2 separate regions of the Homo sapiens genome follow, and region 1 is linked to region 2. Evidence: promoter capture Hi-C in human tissues and cell types (Jung and others, 2019). All regions are on one chromosome and are shown on one strand. Each heading gives the region's core, a stretch centred on a gene start or on the middle of the fragment in contact. The rest is flanking DNA. Distances are from core to core; before and after follow the strand shown.

Evidence for each region. Contacts are between HindIII fragments. The study calls those that stand out against the background at their distance.
Region 1: a contact is called between a fragment that was not itself captured here and the fragment with the promoter of POU3F3 in region 2, in 2 of the 25 tissues and cell types used here (adrenal gland and dorsolateral prefrontal cortex).

Annotation. Positions count from the first base shown.
Region 1 is chr2:104,609,918-104,612,617 of GRCh38, forward strand. All of the region lies in intron 2 of LOC105373525 (a long non-coding RNA gene), which reads left to right. Among named protein-coding and RNA genes, the nearest start is that of LINC01103, 100 kb to the left of the region's middle. The HindIII fragment of the contact is 3,262 bases long and covers 1-2,700 here.
Region 2 is chr2:104,852,765-104,855,464 of GRCh38, forward strand. POU3F3 (POU class 3 homeobox 3) reads left to right here and starts at 1,351. Exons shown (of 1, transcript NM_006236.3): 1 at 1,351-2,700. It also overlaps a transcript of PANTR1 not described here. RefSeq lists an enhancer at 955-1,544. The HindIII fragment of the contact is 12,067 bases long and covers 1-2,700 here.

The sequences.
Region 1 (2,700 bases), core at 130-2,629, 240 kb before region 2:
ATCCAGGACTTGAAAAATACAAGAAACTGAAATAAAAAATATATAGCAAGATTTATAGAATAAAGGTAAAGTACTTTTCAAAAGGAAATTTATAGAAGAAATAAAACTGTCTCTATATGCAGAAACATGGTTGCCTATGTAGACTACCCCAAGGAATCCACCCTCAAAAAACTTCTAGAACTAATAAGTGAACTAAGCTTGGTCACAGAATACAAGATAAATACACAAAAATCAATTGTATTTTCATCCACTAGGAAAGATATAGTGTCTCAAATCAACAATTCAACTCCTCACTTCAAGAACCTTGGAAAAAGAGAGCAAAATAAATCCAAAGCAAGCAGTAGGAAGAAAAAATAAAGATTAAAGCAGAAATCAATGAGACTGAAAACAGAAAAACAATAAAATGAATCAATGAAACAAAGAGCTGGTTAATTGAAAAGATCAATACAATCAATCTTCTAACAAGACTGACAAAAACAAAGAGAGAAGGTACAAATTACTAGCATTAAGAATAAAATGTGATATCACTACAGAGACTGCCATGTAAAAAGGATAATGTGGGAACAGTAAGAAAAACTGTACATACGTAAATTTGACAACTTAGATGAAATAGAACAGTTCTTCAAAAATTACATATTATCACAACTTGCCTATATAAAATACATAATTTTAAAAACTTTACAATTTTCAAGAAAATTAAATTTGTATGTTAAATTCTGTAAAAAGTAATCTCTAGGCCCAGATGGTTTCACTGGGGATTTTGTTTCAAATATTTAAGGAATTAACACTGGGCACAGTGGCTCACGCCTATAATCCCGACAATTTGGGTGGCCAAGATAGGAGGATCACTTGAACCCAGGAGTTCGAGACCAGCCTGGGCAACATAGTGAGACTCCCATCTCTATAAAAAAAAAAAAAAAAGTTTTTAAAATGCCAGGCATGGTGGTGCCCACCTGGGAGGTTGAGATGGGAGGATCACTTGAGCCCGGGAGATTGAGGCTGCAGGGAGACATTGCATTCCAGCCTGGGCAATAAAGTAAGGCCCTATCTCAAAAAAAAAAAAAAAAAAAAAAGATGACTATTGATTTTGCACAATTTCTTCCAGAAAATAGAATTTGAGAAAATGCTTCCTAATTCACTTTATGAAACTAATATTACTCTGATAACAAATCCAGATAAAGACAGTACCAAAAAAAGACAAAACAAAAAATTATAGACCACTATTCCTTATGAATGTAGATGCAGAAGTTCTTAATAAAATATTAACAAATAATTAACAAACAAAATATTAACTAATCTTAACAAATATTAACAAAACAATATTTGTTAATATTGTAAAAGGCAATTAAGTGGGTTTATTCCAGGGATGCAAGACTGGTTTAGTATTTGAATATTAATCAGTGTAGTCTACCATATATTAACAGGGTAAAGAAGAAAAAACACATGATCACACCAATTAATGTAGAAAAAAATATTCAACAAAATTGAATATCCACCTGTGATAAAATCTCTCAGAAAAAAATAGAAATAGATGAGGATTTCCTAAGCCAAGTAAAAAGCATCTACAAAATATATATGGTTAACATTATACGTAAAGGTGAAAGACTGAATTATTTTGGCAAAGACTGGAAACACAGCAAGGATGTGTCTAACCATTGCTATTGAACATAATGTTGAAAGATCTCAACAGTACAGTATGGCATGAAAAGGAAATAATAGGCATATTGATCAGAAAAGAAGAAATAAAACTGTCTCTATATGTAGAAACATGGTTGCCTATGTAGACTACCCCAAGGAATCCACCCTCAGAAAACTTCTAGAACTAATAAGTGAACTAAGCTTGGTCACAGAATACAAGATAAATACACAAAAATCAATTATATTTTAATCCACTAGTAATAAATACTAAAAATAGAAGTTAAAAATGTAAGACCATTAGTGATTACTTAAAATGAAGTACTTAGGTATAAACCTAACGAAACATGTATAGATCTTGCATGCTGAAAACTGCAAATGCTGATGATGGAAAACAAAGATCTGCATAAAATGGAGAGATATACTTAGTTCACGGATTGGAAGACTGAACCAGGTGAAGGTATCAATTCTTTCCAAATTGATACACAGCCATAATAGTTGGATAGGGCTGCCAAAACAAAACACCACAGGCTGGATAGCTTAAACCATAGAAATTTAATTTCTCAGAGTTTTGAAGGCTAAAAATTCAAGATCAAGGAGCCAGCAGGATTGAATTCCTCTGACACCTCTCACCTTGGTTTGCAGATGGCCACCCTCTTCCTGCCTTTTCCCGTGGTCATTCATTTATTTGTGTTCATCCTTGACGTCTCTTCCTCTTATGAATGGATCAGTCCGATTAGGGTCCCACCCTAACAGCATCATTTTAACTTAATTGCCCCTTTAAAGATCTTATCTCAAAGTATGATTACATTATCTTAAAGTATGATTACATTCTGAGGTACTAGGGGATCATAGACTTAAATGTCACATGTAAAAATATAAAACTTTTAGAAAAAAGATAAGAGGAAATCTTTAGGATCCAGGACTAGGCAAAATGTTCTTGGACTTGACACCAAAAGCACAAGCTAAGAAAGAAAAATTGGAAAAATTGGATTTCATCAAAATTTATAACTTTTGCTCTGTGACAGATTTTTTAAGAAGATAAAAAGATAAACTACAGAGTGG
Region 2 (2,700 bases), core at 101-2,600:
ACCCCACCCCCGCTTCTCTCGCCTACCGGGTGCACTCCCCCTCCCATCCCCCTTAACTCTTTCAGCTGGGTTAGAGCTGAGAAAGCATTTGTCGCCGCCAGCCCCATCCACCACGCAAATCCATCTGAGACAGAAAGGAAAGAAAAAAAAGCACCACCATGCCTAAGAATAGAGAGCGAGCAAACCCCCCCACCGCTAATCACACACACACACACACACACACACACACACACACACGAGGAAGCGGTGGAGCAGAGAAGGGCGCGGCTAGCCGATCCCGGTTCTTTCGCCCGGCTCCTGCTGCCACAGGGAATTCCTAAAGCCATTGGGGTCGAATACACTTACGATGAATCTATGGGGGAAGGTCGGACTGATTGCTTTTCAAATACATCGCACGGCTCCGCTGACCGGCACCCTCCAAACTCACAAGGGCACGCACGCTACTTGCACGAATCCCAGAGGAGGGAGGAGGGAGGAAGGGAGGGAGAGCGAAGGAGGGAGAGAGGGGGTGGAGGAGCCAGGGAGCGGCGGCAGCGAGCGGTCCGTCTCGCACGCGCGGGCACCGCGCTGGTCCTGGGCTGCAGGTTTCCCAGATGATGGCATCCGAGAACTTAAACAAAGGGGGCTGCCGCCGGCGCGCAACGGCTGCGGAAAGTTGCGGTGGCGGATTTCCAAGGAGCGTGGCCACGACCAGAGCTCTTGGCGATGCGAGCCCCCGCTTCCCACCCCCGCCGATCAGAGAAGGGGGCCGGCTGGTGAAGGGAAGAGGAAACTTTGAAACCACTGGGGACACATCTGTCTATAGGTATTAGCTTGAATGGTACATCCGTGCCGCGCGCTTTACAAATCTCTGGCGGGGCGGGGGTAAGGGGGTGAGCAACCCGACGCGTACTAGGTGGGGTGGGCAGGTTGCTATTTTTCATGTTTCCCCCTTCGTTTTCCTTCTGATTCTCTTCCCCCCTCTCGTCCCTCCCTCCCTTTTATCTCCCCTTTCTTCCCCCCGCCCAGACCTATTGCGAACGCCCAGAGCCGCCGAGGGAACGCCAACGTCTGGGCCGGACACTAAGAGTTAAGATGTGGCGGAGGGGGCGGCGGGGGAGGGGCGGGGAGGGGAAAGTGGTGAGGGGGAGGGAGGCTGGAGGACGACAGATTTCCAGCTTCTACGACGCTCTGCCTAAATTAAAAAGCAACCAATCGGAACGGCCGGAAGGGGGGCCTCGCGTCCTGAGCCAGTCATTCCGAGCCTGCCAATCACCCAGCGGGTAGCCAATCAGCGGGGGCCCTGGTGCTCGACTTCCTTGTATTTGGGAAAGTGTGGTGGTGGGTGCGCGCTCGCGGCGGAGGGTAAACATTCGACAGTCCCCGCTCTGAGAGGGAGGGACAGAGAGCGAACTGTCAGATCGGAGCGAGAGCGGGCGCCCGAGAGAGGGAGAGAGAGAGAGGGAGGGAGAGGAAAAGTGAGAGAGGGAAAGAGAGCGCGAACGAGGGCGCAGAGCGAGCTCCTGCTGCAACTCTGCTCCAGCACGGCCAGCGCCAGCGCCCGCCGTCGGTGCACTCTACGAGCCGTGCAGCGTGCCCACTGGAGTTGTTGTGTATCAAGGATCGATCCCCTATATGCACACACACACCTCCACCTCCACCAATGCACTCTTCTTCCTCCTCCTTCTCCAGACAACTGCTGGGAAAAAAATAAAACACCAACCCCAACCGTCAGCAACAAGGTAACAGAGCGATTCGACATCATTTTTTTTCCTGTTCAATTTTTTCCTTGTTATATTTGTTTCCTAATTTCTGCCCAAAAGGAAAGATGTCGCATCAGACTGTGACTGTTGCGAGGAGAATGAAAAAGGACTCTTGTTTCAGAGGCAACCAAGAGCTCCGGCAATAGCAACTTCAGAGAAATGCACCATCGCAAGAAGTTTTCCTAGGACAGAACAAAACTTGAAACGAGAGGACCAGAGGGGGAGAGCAGGAGCCAGCCTCCCCTCTCCGCACTCGCGAGCAGCCAGCAGCACCACGCCTTCAAGGACGAAAAAGTTTTACTACTCTAAGGGAAAACGAGTGAAATGTGTTCCTGAGGAGGAGAGGAGAGGAGAGGAGAGAGCGGACAAGAGAAGGAGCGGGCCGGTTGCTGGTCATCCGTAATTTGGCTAAGGAAGAAAGGAGCAGCTTCTTTCTTTGTTATCTCCCGTGAAACCTTCACTTAGCAGGTGGACGGAGCCCCGCGACCGGGCAGAGTCCGGGCTCGCCCGAGGACAGGAGGAGGAGCGGGAGCCCGCGCGTCCCGGGAGAGCGCCCCGAGTGCAGGTCCCCGCCCCGCCCGGCGAGCCCCGCTGGAGCGAGCCCAGCGCGCCGGGGCTGGGGGGCGGCCACGACCCCCCCTGAAGGGGGTGGCCACGGAGCGCACCCCGAGAAGCGAGCCCCCCTCCCCAGAGCGCTGCTCCTGCGGCTGCTGCTGCTGCTGGTGACCAAGGCCGGCCGGCGACCCCCGCGCCCTGCCGAGCGGCCTTGCAGCTGCAGCCGGGGGCCGCGGCGGCGGCGGCGGCGGCGGGGGCGGAGGCGGCGGCGGAGGAGGAGGCGGCGAAGGCGGCGGGGCCGGCGGGGGCCCGGGGCGGGGGCGGGGAAGGAGGGGGGGAGGAGGCGGGAGGCGGGGGGCGCGGCGGCGGCGGCGGCGGCGGCGGCCGCGGCTGCTGCTGCGGC